Regions from separate parts of the Homo sapiens genome. Here region 2 is linked to region 1. The links are contacts of gene promoters, found by promoter capture Hi-C in blood cells and fetal thymus (Javierre and others, 2016). All regions are on one chromosome and are shown on one strand. Each heading gives the region's core, a stretch centred on a gene start or on the middle of the fragment in contact. The rest is flanking DNA. Distances are from core to core; before and after follow the strand shown.

Region 1 (6,444 bases), core at 2,626-5,125:
CCAGCCCTTCAGGTCTGAGTATGCCTGCACCAGGATCTGTTATCACAGGGTACTCCAGTGAGCGCCACAGCCTCCCTCTAGGCAAAAGTGTGTATGCCCTGTTTTATGTTAGCTATTCTAGGAGTTAGCCTTGAACCTGATCTCTGAGTGGATCTGACATTTCCATTTCCCTCCTAGGTGCTCTAGTCCTTCCCCCACCCCCATCCCCCCAAATCAGACTTTGCTCTTACTCTCTTTTTATTCTATACCTTCTTTTATTTCTTGCCACAGCTTTTTCCATCCTCTTGAATTTGCACTTTCCCATCTGCATTGTTCCCAGGGAACAAATATGGCCCCAATCCCAGTGAGAGCCAAGCAGACTCATGGAAAGGCTCAAATTGCCTGCGGAAGGCTTCCTGGATAGTAGATCCCAGCTTTTCTGTTCCCGCAGCAGAATAGAGCTAGGACCCCTCTTTCACAGGAACAGGGGCCTGCAGGTAGAGACAGCAGACCCAGGTTTTCTGACTCACGTCACATAGAACTACCCCTAGAGAAGAAAACTGGATCCTAGGCATGAGTCCTCTAAGGCTTGCAGAAACACTGAGCCAGTCAGGTACGGTGGGGAGAGGGGCCAAGGGGACTTTGGCTGAATTGCCTTCTAGCCCTGGGTTAGTCAGAGACCCTGGCAACCGGTAGATACTGGCTCTCAGCCAGGGACACACATCAGAGTCTCCTGTGACACTTGCTAAAAATACAGACCCCCCACCTGGGATCTGCTGAATCAGCGCATGGGCAGGTGGGTCAGGCATGCATGTGTTCCAAATGCTCCTTGTGGCTCTGACAGGTGCCCCTGGAGAAGAGCCAGGTAGGCACAGCAGTGGCCCCAACTGCCTGTTTTGCCCCGAGCAGGAAAATTCCTCTTGGTGGTCCCGTTTTACTGTATGTTAAAGATCTGTGGCTCTTCAAGGGGAGTCCTAAAGTTTTCAGAGTAAATGGACAGAGTAATGATCCATCCTTGTTTACCCAGTAATGGTTACAGCCAATATTTATAGAGTACTTGCCATAGGCAAGGTACTATTCCTAGCATTTTATATCTCGTATCTCACTTAGTTCTCCTGACAACTTTTCCTTTCCAATAAGAGGAATTAACCTCACTTTACAGATAAGGAAAACTTTCACAGGGAGAGGGAAGGACTTTGCCCAAGGGTACATGGCTAGTGTCAGCCAGACATTTGCATTGTCTGGCATTTCACTTTTTTTTTTGAGATGGAGTCTTGCTCTGTCGCCCAGGCTGGAGTGCAGTGGCGCGATCTCGATCTCAGCTCACTGCAAGCTCCACCTCCTGGGTCTATGCCATTCTCCTGGCTCAGCCTCCTGAGTAGCTGGGACTACAGGCGCCCGCCACCACGCCCGGCTAATTTTTTGTATTTTTAGTAGAGACGCGGTTTCACTGTGTTAGCCAGGATGGTCTTGATCTCCTGACCTCATGATCCGCCCGCCTTGGCCTCCCAAAGTGCTGGGATTACAGGCTTGAGCCACCGTGCCCGGCCTAACATTTCACCTTTTAGAGTGCTTTTGAGTTCATGATTCAGGTGCATGCTTCAGGTGAAGCCACCTTTTAAGGGACCATGCAGGGGAAACCTTTCCAGATTGGCTTATGAGGAAACTGAACCCCAGAGAATTGTGCCCTAGCAAGGCCACGGAACTGTTGAAAAGCTGAACTGGAGCAAGAGCTGGGTTTCCTGACTTCTAGATCAGTACTTTCTCAAGTGGACTCACCTATACGGCTTGGCTGGTCATAGGTGAAGCTGAGGGGTGTGGGGGGAGCAGCAGAATGTCCCTGGAGATGGGTGCCTCCCTGGCAGACTCCTTCCATTCCTTCTGCAGAGGCCAGCCATATGAAGGAGGAACTGGTTGGCCAGCCTCAATGAGTGTGTATGTGTGTGTGCGACTGATTCGTTTTTGTGGAGTCCCGGAAAACATCATTTCCGGTTTGGCCCTGTTACTACCTCTGAAATGAGTTAGAAGAAATCTCTATGGTCCCTTTAATGTGAACATTTTGAGATGGAGACTGAGGTAAGAGTATGAAAGTACTTTGCACTTAATGAGTAGCAGTTGACACTTACAAAGCTTTTGTTAGGACCAGGACACTCCCTGAGCTCCCTGCAATTCTGACACTGAGAAATAGGTAGTCTTCCCATTTTGCAGATGAAGAAACTGAGGCCCATGGCTGCATACCTTACACATGGCAGAGCCTAGATTCGAACTCAAGTCTGGGTGCCTTGTGTCACCACTGTATTTTTCCCTGGTCAGAACAGATACCCTTGCTTTGTCCTGTGTCCTCACTGCTTTCTCCAGCTCACGTTTGTATCAACCTAAAGCAGGCCTACATACCTGGAAGGGAAAGAAGCAGTGGATTCTTCCTAGGCTTCAACTATATCTAAGCATTCCAGGAGTCAAGGGCACAGCACTAAGGCAGGAACTTGAAACACTCACTGAGAGGTTGTCTGTGTGTAGCCCCTCCCACAGGGGCTTGTTATACACCTCCTTAGGGGGAAGGAGGGGTAACTCCAGGTAGGCAAGTGTGGTTTCCAATCCCTCACAATGATACCTTTGCTCTGGCTGGTGCTACATAGGGCAGGGTCTCCTGCTGAGGCAGGGGCAGGATCCAGTCCTTTGAGTTTTCTTGGATGGCATCTCAGGCTTGTCCCTGCTGCCCTGTGGGCTATTAGATCACTTCCTGACATCCCTCAAGAGTCCTCTGGAGTGGGGCTTGCAGGGCTGAGCCTGCAGCTGACTTGTCTATGAGGAAACGCCTCCTCTGTCTCTGGTCCAGGATCTGCTACTTATGGAGGCCCACCCCAACCCAGCACGTTTTTAAAGTACGTTGGAGCTGCCCAGGAGGGTGTTTTGGCAATACCTCCTTTAGAGGCTGATTCTGAAATCAGCGTGCTTTAGAACTGCCAGAAATCCCCTGCTCCCAAAACTGAGTCCTCTTACCTCTCTAGCTGAGGTCAGAGAACAGATTGCTGAAGGGGCAGAGACAAGAAAGTGTGTGACCTGTGACCCTCGCCCCACAGGTGGCATTAAGGACTCAGGTCTGAAAGAAGAGACAGCCATATAGGGAGCTCTCCTGCCCAGGGAAAGGGAACTAATGGAGACACTGGCTTAGGTAGAGCTGCCCCAGTTGCTGGTGCAGAGAGGGCACCAGCATACAACATGCTGGTATGGGCCAAACAGCATGGCTAAAACTGCTTTTTAATTTTTTAAATTTTATTTATTTATTTATTTATTTTGAGACAGAGTTTTGCTCTGTCCCCCAGGCTGGAGTGCAATGGTGTGATCTCGGCTCACTGCAACCTCCACCTCTTGGATTCAAGTGATTCTCGTGCCTCAGCCTCCGGAGTAGCTGGGATTACAGGAGCTCACTACCATACCCTGCTAATTTTTGCATTTTTAGTAAAGATGGGGTTTCACCATATTGGTCATGCTGGTCTCGAACTTCTGACCTTAAGTGATCCCCACTGCCTTTGCCCCCCAAAGTGTTAAAACTGCTTTTTTCAAAAAATGCCCATGCAGTTAGATACACAGCTACTTTTTGGAACTTCGGGAGCCGGTGCTAAGCTGGGTCCGGCCCTGCCTTGCTTGTTAGCTGTAGAGAACAGTGTCAGTGGCCAGGCATGAAAGCAGTACACCCTCCCCATTGTTTGCAGTCTTTTGTGTGTGGGGGCTGTCTAGGCATCTCACCCTCTTTTGTTCCCTGCCGACTCACCTGCTGGTCCCAGGAGCTCTTCCGTCCACCTGGCACTTTAGGGCATGTCCATAGCCAAGGAACAGATGCCCCTTGCAGAGGACCTGGGAGGACTTCTCTCCATGGGGGAGTCCCAGTCAAATGTGTCTTGGCTGCAGGGTTCAGGCAGCCGTCCAAGAAGGGCCGGAAATGCTCCAAATACTCTCCTTCCTCCAATAGCTGAGAGGAAGGAGGCCCCTCAGAGGGGCCATTTTATAGTGATAGCCAGGCTAAGGCTAAGTCCTTTGCTGTGGGGGATGGGAGGTGGTGGGGAAGGAAGTACTTCTGGGGATGAACCAAAAAAGAAAGCAACTTTCTACCTGAATGGGCTTGTTAAAATCTGATTGTCTCAGAGGTTACCTTCTGCTGAATCGCAGGCAGATGTGTGAGGAGTTCCTTTGCTGGGACACAAAGCTGTGTTGTTGACAAAAGTGGTATCTGGACCTGACTTTCAGGAGAAGATTAAAAACAGTGTTGCCCTGGTCACTCTGGTCTTCGTTTGTGTGTATGTGTGCACGTGTTCACGTGTTTGTACATGTACACTTTTTTTTTTTAAAGACAAAATCTCACTCTGTCACCCAGGCTGGAGTGCAGTGGTGCAATCACGGCTTACCGCAGCCTCAAACTCCTGGGCTCCGGTGATTCTCCCACTTCAGCCTGCCAAGCTGGGACTGCAGGTGCACCTGGCTAATTTTTTTTTGGTAGAACAGGATTTTGCCATGTTGCTCAGGCTGGTCTTGAACTCCTGAGCTGCAGTGATCCAACCGGCCCAGCTTCCCAAAGTGCTGGGATTACAGGCTTGAGCCACCTACCCCGGCCCATGCATAGGGGCAAATAGTGTCCTTACCTGGTACTTCTTGAGAGTAGTGGGGATGAATACCAGGGGAGACAGCGATTTTTGTCTCAAGTGAAACAGTCTTACTTGCTTTTGTTTTTCACAGAATACCCAGTCAGGGAGTTTGTGAGCTGGAAAACAAATTTTGTTGTGGACTTGGGAGAAGGTATAGGGGCTATTTTGACTTTCTGAAACCTGCTCATGATCAGAGCTCTCAGGCACCTTTCCCTCATCTTCTTGGGCTTCATCCACGTGATGATGGTGGGAGGGCTCCTGGTCTGTTGCTGGCCTCCTGGAATGAGGCCCATGATGTTGCCATTTAGTGGTCATCTCCCCTTGGATAATTAATTAAAACAAGCGCAGCATTTAGCTTTAGAGTTAGCACAGTGCCTTACTCTCTAACTTCGTTTATCCTTTCAGTCCTGAGTGAGGGCTTGCTGTTATCCCAGTTTATGGATGAGGAAACTAAGGCTCCAAAAGGCTGTGTGGCTGAGTCAGTAACTGGCAGAGCCTGGACCCCAGCCCTGATGATCCTCAGTGGGGGCATACTCCTCACATCCCCTCTTCTCCTCACACCCCGCCTCAGTAGGAAGACTCGCAGCAGTGAGCTGGATGGCTGGCCTGGTTTCCCTGTCTTCAGCCACCAGCTCACTTTCTTCTTAAGCCAGAGCTGCTTCCCTCATTGGGTCTGTGCTAGTCCTCTCAGACATCTAGCCCCAAACCAAATGTTTGGGGCAGAGAAAGCAGAAGCACATCTGCATCTGGGCAGAAGAGGAGGGCTGGGTGTCCGCAGAGGGTAGCAGGGAATGAAGGAGGGAGAGCAGCTCGTAGTTGGGCTACATGGCATCCGCTGGAGTCCTGCCCTCCCTGGTTGGGGAAACCATGTGCAATGAATTTCCTACGGGGGCCAGGCATGGTGGCTCATGCCTGTAATCCTAGCACTTTGAGAGGATGAGGCAGGAGGATTGCTTGAGCCCAGGAGTTCAAGGCCAGCCTGGGCAACATAGTGAGACCTCATCCCTTTTTTTTTTTTGAGACGGATTTTCGCTCTTGTTGCCCAGGCTGGAGTGCAATGGTGTGATCTTGGCTCACCGCAGCCTCCGCCTTCTGGGTTCAAGCAATTCTCCTGCCTCAGCTTCCCAAGTAGCAGGGATTATAGGCATGCACCACCACGCCTGGCTAATTTTGTATTTTTAGTAGAGACAGGGTTTCTTTCTTTTTCCTTTTTTTTTTTTTTTGAGATGGAATTTTGCTTTTGTTGCCCAGGCTGGAGTGCAATGGCATGATCTCTAGCTTACCATAACCTCTGCCTCCTGGGTTCAAGCGATTCTCCTGCCTCAGCCTCCCGAGTAGCTGGGATTATAGGCATGTGCCACCATACCTGGCTAATTTTGTATTTTTAGTAGAGACGGGGTTTCTCCATGTTGGTCAGGCTGGTTTCAAACTGCCAACCTCAGGTGATCCGCCCGCCTCGGCCTCCCAAAGTGCTGGGATTACAGGCATGAGCCACCATGCCCAGCCTCTGTTTTTTTGTTCTGTTTTTAAAGAAGGAAATCGCTGTGGGCCTGTAAATCCTCTTGTGCCCAGTGTTCCTCTCCTGGAAAGGCAGGCTGTGCCCCTCCCCATCACACACAGATGGGTAGGGGATGGCCTGCACCTGGCTGTCAAGGACACAATGCTGAGTGCTGGCTGAAAGGAGCCATTGAAAGGCTCTTTGACACAAGTTTCAGATCCCTCTCTGAACTCTGTGGTTCCCTCACCCTTAACCAAGGAACAATGCAGGTCTTGGACCAAAGCTCCTGGCTCCAACCCCTCCTTCCTCCTCTGCCCCATTGTCATC
Region 2 (6,315 bases), core at 1,333-3,832, 41 kb before region 1:
GAAGACAAATTCGTTGTGCTTTGGGACCTGAGAATTATGTTAGGAGTTGAAGTCTCTAGCCATTGTCATCTGAGCTTGAAGTTTCTTTGTGGGCTTCAAGTTTATTTGCTTCTGGTTGATTCTATGAGCTAGTATATGAAACCAGAGCTCCCCTTGAGACAGAGTTTCATTCTTGTTGCCCAGGCTGGAGTGCAATGGCATGATCTCGGCTCCCTGCAACCTCCACCTCCCAGGTTCAAGGAATTTTCCTGCCTCAGCCTCTCGAGTAGCTGGGATTACAGGTAGGCGCCACCAAGCCCAGCTAATTTTTGTATTTTTAGTAGAGATGGGGTTTCTCCATGGTGGTCAGTCTGGTCTAGAACTCCCGACCTCAGGCGATCCGCCCGCCTCCGCCTCCTAAAGTGCTGAGATTACAGGCGTGAGCCACCGCGCCCGGCCAAAACCAGAGCTCTTTGTGAGACTAGTCTTTGAGTCTGGAGTCTGGCCTGGGTATTTCTTTCACTAAGCAAATAGGTCTTAGTTCTCTTCCCAAATACCCAGCCTTACGTTTAGTCTCAAACTGTACCTTTGAACAACTTGAAGAAACTGCCTGGGAGGCACTCTAAATCTGGTCGTTGCCAATAGGCTGTGTCCCACTTACATCTGTCATGGAAGTTATGGTCACCTTTGTTTTAGGAGGAATAAAAAGCAGGAGGTGCTTGGGAAAGGGCTAGGGATAAGCCATCAACCATATCCCATATCCTATATCCCATATTCCATATCCTATAGCCCACATCCATATCCCATAGTCCATAGCCCATATCCCACATCCATAGCCCATATCTCATATCCCATATCCCACATCCATACCCCATATCTCATATCCCACAGCCCATATCCCATGTCCCATATTCCATATCCCATATCCCACATCCATAGCCCATATCCATATCCCATATCCATATCCCACATCCATAGCCCATAGCCCATATCCATATCCCACATCCATATCCCACATCAATATCCCATATCCCATATCCCACATCCATATCCCATATTCCATATCCCATATCCCACATCCGTAGCCCATAGCCCATATCCATATCCCACATCCATAGCCCATAGCCCATATCCATATTCCACATCCATATCCCATATCCCACATCCATATCCCATATGGCATAGCCCATATCCCATATCCATATCCCACATCCACATCCCATATCCCATATCCATATCCCACATCCCATATCCATATCCCACATCCATATCCCATAGCCTATATCCATATCCCATACCTCATATCCATGTCCCATAGCCCATATTCATATCCCATAGACCATATCCATATCCCATGTCCCATGTCCCATGTTCCATATCCCATATCCCATATCTTGTATCCCATATCCCATATCTCATATCCCATATCCCATACAATGCAATCCCCCATCCCTGTTTCTGTTCACATTAGGTTAGTGCAAAAGTAATTGCAGTTTTGCAATTCTTTTCGATGGCAAAAAACGCAATTACTTTTGCACTAACCTAATACTAACATACCTTGGGACAAAGTTTTCAGGGCTTTCTAGTCCTCTCAGCCATTTTTTTTTTTTTTTTTTTTTTTTTTTACCGTAGGCAGAAAGGGCTTCTCTTATCAAAGCTGTATTTTCTTCCTTCTCTGTTTTGGGGTAAGCTAGTTTGAACATAAGCTTACCCTTTTTTTTTTTTTTTTTTTTTGAGACGGAGTCTCGCTCTGTCACCCAGGCTGGAGGGCAGTGGCATGATCTCAGCTCACTGCAACCTCCACCTCCTGGGTTCAAGAGATTCTCCTGCCTCAGCCTCCCGAGTAGCTGGGATTACAGGTGTGCACCACCATGCTGGGCTAATTTTTGTATTTTTCGTAGAGACGGGGTTTCACCATGCTGATCAGGCTGGCCTCGAACTCCTGACCTCGTGATCCGCCCACCTTGGTCTCCCAAAGTGCTGGGATTACAGGCGTGAGCCACTGCACCAGGCCAGCAACTTACCTTTTTACAGTACTTTATTAATATTAACAAGAAGGAGCCAACCCAATCCAACACTCTACATTTTTCTACTAAGTAGTGTACCGCTACAGCCGCAGATTGTGTAATCTGCACCCCAAGTCACAACAGGAAACTGTATAGCTAATTAGATGGCCAATTTCTCAGCCGAAAATGTAGGGGTTCTTTATCCTTCATCTTACTTCTTTGGTTGGACAATCCCATTTTTAGGGCCTGTCTCTTGAAACACCTTATGGAACTCATTTCTGTATCAGTTAGGAATCTTTAGGTTGCAGTAAACCAATCTCCAATTCAACTGGTTTAAACAATATGGAGAATTTATTGGCTCAATTTACTGTGAAGTCCAGAGGAAGAGGTGGCTTTAAATAAGGCTTGAGGCCAGGCGTGGTGGTCATGCCAATAATCCCAGCAATTTGGGAGGCCAAGGTAGACAGATTGCTTGAGCCCAGGAGTTTGAGACCAGCCTGAGCAACATAGCGAGACCCCGTCTCTACAAAAAAAATTTTAATTAGCTGGGCACAGTGACATGCATCTGTGGCCCCAGCTACTCAGGAGGCTGAGGAGGGAGGATCACTTGAGCCTTTGAGGTCAAGGCTGCAGTGACTGTAATCACACCACTGCAGTCCAGACTGGGCAACAGAGTAAGACCCTATCTCAAAAAAAAAAAGTAAAAAGTAAATAAGGCTTGATCCAAAAGTTCATACAACGTTACCATGAAGTCAGTTCCCCCCCTTCTCTCTCTGCCTTTCATGGCATCATCATGTTTCATATAGTGGTCTTCCAACAGCTCCAGATTTTCCCATAACAGTCATGGCATGGCTATAGCAATTCACACCTTACATCTTCATACTAGTAGCTGCTATAAAAGTCCTGAGACTCACATTCTCTCACTCACTTAAAATGGATCAAGTGCCCATCCCTGAACCAGCCACTGTGGTCAGTGCACTAATTAACTTAGCAATGGTTGGGAAGAAGAGCTCATCACACCCAAATCACATGGTTGAAGATGTGAAATCCTCTAAAGGAAAACCATGACTATGGCAGCAGGCAGGGAACAGACACTGGCGAGGCACCCAACAAGGGGTTTGTAGCCAAATAGCCAAAAATGAGTGTGATCTACTAATTTTTTCCCATACTTTAGTCAAAGTGATCTTACTAAAACTCAGATTCAATCCCATCACCCTCCTGTCTTAAATCTTCAGGCTTCCCATTGCCTTTTGAATAAAGTCAATATTTGTTCATACGGTTGGCAGGGTCCTGTATGATCTGGCCAATCTCTCTTTTCTTCCTCCATCACACTTCAGATAAACTAACCCTTTTTAGTGTCTTAAATTTGCCATGCCCTTTTTGAGCTTTCACACATGGTCTTCCCTGTAACTGAATTTTCATCATACTTCTTTGGCTAATTCCTACTCAGTCCTCAGATTTTAGTTTAAAAGTCACTTCTTCCTGGAAGCTTTCTCTGAGTCCCTAGTACTGAGTCATGTACCCCTCCACAGACTCCACATCACCTCTAATTTTTTTTTTTTTTTTTTGACAGAGTTTCACTCTGTCGCCCAGGCTGGAGTGCAATGACATGATCTCAGCTCACTGCAACCTCTGCCTCCCAGGTTCAAGCAATTCTCCTGCCTCAGCCTCCCAAGTAGCTGGGATTACAGGCACGTGTCACCATGCCCAGCTAATTTTTTTTTTTTTTTGTATTTTTAGTACAGACAGGGTTTGCCATGTTGGCCAGCCTGGTCTCGAACTCCTGACCTCAGGTGATCCACCTGCCTCGGCCTCCCAAAGTGTTGGGATTACAGGCGTGAGCTACTGCACCCAGCCTCCAATTTCTTATATATATATCATTTTTTAGTGTCATTGGCATTTAATAAAAGATAAGGAGATCATTACCATGGTCCTCAAGAAATGACCACCTGAACTAAAAGCGTGGCTGCAGAGACAAACGAGGGAGACAGGGTGATAAGGGAAACATTTAGAATAACTCCCATGTTGCTGGCCTGGTTAATAGGTTAATGACACTGGTGTCATGAGAAGGAGGTTAGATCCTATCAAGCCGTGATGGAGCTGCAGCAGACAACTTTAGGTGTCCTGTACTCTATACCCTCTCTCCCTGCTCAGATTCGGGTGCAGCTGTGGCAGACAGTCCACATGGCTGTCTTTCTGCCTTGGCTGGCTTTCTGCCTTGGGCAGCCCAGAAAAATGCAGGGAGGTTAATATCCCCAGCACAGCGCTCAAGAAATGGGGTGTGAGAGACCATTGAATAAGTGCCCTGGCCTCCTATGCTGCTGGGGGCCAATCTGAGATGCACTCTACTCAGTTCCTTATGGGCCCAGCCAGATCGAGCTTCATTTGCTCACAGTGGTAACCAGCTCAATAACATACTCTTTGTGACTTTTCCTTCTTCCCTGCCTCACTCTTTTTGCTCTCGCACCCTGCTTCCCAGGATCGTCTCCAAAATAAACTCCCTGAGCACAAGTCCAAGTCTCAGTCCCTGCTTTCATCCCAAACAGAAACCATTGAAGACTCTTCGACAGAGAAAATAAGAGGAGAAGCAGGTTGAGGGGCAGCTGGCACCTTAACAGCCACCTGTACTGTGAGAAGCCCATGGGACAACACAGGGCCATGATGTTGGCAGGGATTTGACCTCTGCTCAACCTACAGAACATTTTCCCTTTATTTGTCACTGTTGATCTCTCTCTTTGACATGCTTCACTGACACAATCCTACCCTGGTCTTCCTCCTACATTCCTGGCTACTACTTTCAGTTTCCTTTGTAAAATAAAGTTGCTAGTGTTGAGGCTGGGTGATGGGTACATAGGAGGTTGTGATAGAATGTTATACTTTTGTGTGTCTTACTCTTTCCAAGATACTTTTTGTTTTTGTTTTTTGTTTTTTGTTCTTTGTTTTTTTTGAGACAGAGTCTCGCTCTTGCTGCCCAGGCTGGAGTGCAGTGGTGCAATCTCCCTCACGCAACCTCTGCCTCCTGGGTTCAAGCGATTCTCCTGCCTCAGCCTCCCGAGTAGCTGGGATTACAGGCACTCACCACCACGCCTGGCTAATTTTTTTGTATTTTTAGTAGAGACAGGGTTTCAACATGTTGGCCAGGCTGGTCTCAAACTCCTGACCTCAGGTGATCCACCCACCTTGGCTTCCCAAAGTGCTAGGATTACAGGCATGAGCCACCACACCAGGCCTCCAAAATGCTTTTAAAGAATAACTTTTAGGCCAGGCGTGGTGGCTCATGACTGTAATCCCAGCACTTTGGGAAGCCGAGGCAGGAGTTCGATCACCTGAGGTCAGGAGTTCGAGATCAGCCTGGCCAACATGGTGAAACCCTGTCTCTACTAAAAATACAAAAATTACCCAGGCGTGGTGGCGCATGCCTGTAATCCCAGCTACTTGGGAGGCTGAGGCAGGAGAATCACTTGAACTCGGGAGGCGGAGGTTGCAGTGAGCCGAGATTGTGCCACTGCACTCCAGCCTGGGCAACAGAGTGAGGCTCTGTCTCCAAAAAAAAAAAGAAGAAGAAGAACTTTTAAATGGGGTTTCTCTTCTCATTTCTTCTTCATCTACCTAATGGTTTTCAAATGTGTGCAGAAGCTTACATAAGTGTCACCTGGGGATCTTGTTCAATGCATGCTCACCTTGCCCTACTTGAATGAGCCCCTACTATTTTTCTGACTTTATCTCCCATCACTCCCTTGTGCCTACATTGCTCCAGCCACACTGGTCTTCCTCCTCTTCCCCAAACACATTGATAAGTCCTCCATGCCTCTACGACCTTTGCACTTGCATAACCACAAATGACAGATACCACTAAATGATCTCTGCTCAAATGTTACCTCCTCAAAGCAGTCATTCTAAAATAGTGTGCATGCACACACACACATACACCCTCTATCACACTGACCTGTTTTATTGTCTGCATAAAACCTGTCACTATCTAAAAATATCTGGCTTACTTACTTGTTTACTTGGATTTTGGCCACTAGCTCCATATTGGCTAGCACTCCTAGAAGGTGAGTTCCTATTTACTGCCCTATCACAACTCTGGGCATATTCAAATAGCTTAATGAATATGTGTTGTGTGGATGAAGAGCTATATGCCTACAGGACTTGGGAGGGAGAGCTGGGGGCATAGACATAGGAGCTGGCATCATCACAACAGTAACAGTGGAAACCATTTCGCAAAACGGTTTGCCCAGTAAGAGTGGGTAGAAGTGAGGAAAACCAGAATAGAATCCAGGAGATCAGCCACAGAGCGGAAAAAGGAAAAGGAGCCTGGGAAGGAAAC

The links. Contacts are between HindIII fragments. The CHiCAGO score rates a contact against its expected background, and 5 or more counts as called.
Region 2: a contact is called between a fragment that was not itself captured here and the fragment with the promoter of CTDSP2-AS1 in region 1, in 5 of 17 cell types (M0 macrophages, M2 macrophages, activated CD4 T cells and 2 more). The highest score is 6.6, in M0 macrophages.

The regions. Positions count from the first base shown.
Region 1 is chr12:57,834,522-57,840,965 of GRCh38, reverse strand. It overlaps CTDSP2-AS1 (CTDSP2 antisense RNA 1), which reads right to left and starts at 3,875. Exons shown (of 2, transcript NR_188077.1): 1 at 3,752-3,875. The region is part of intron 1 of CTDSP2 (CTD small phosphatase 2); the gene reads left to right. RefSeq lists enhancers at 2,536-2,615, 2,676-2,785, 2,366-2,986, 3,576-3,645, 6,206-6,265. The HindIII fragment of the contact is 9,495 bases long and covers 2,112-6,444 here.
Region 2 is chr12:57,874,377-57,880,691 of GRCh38, reverse strand. All of the region lies in intron 1 of LOC283387 (a long non-coding RNA gene), which reads left to right. All of the region lies in intron 1 of LOC124902948 (a long non-coding RNA gene), which reads right to left. Among named protein-coding and RNA genes, the nearest start is that of CTDSP2, 31 kb to the right of the region's middle. RefSeq lists a silencer at 5,672-5,966. The HindIII fragment of the contact is 1,789 bases long and covers 1,688-3,476 here.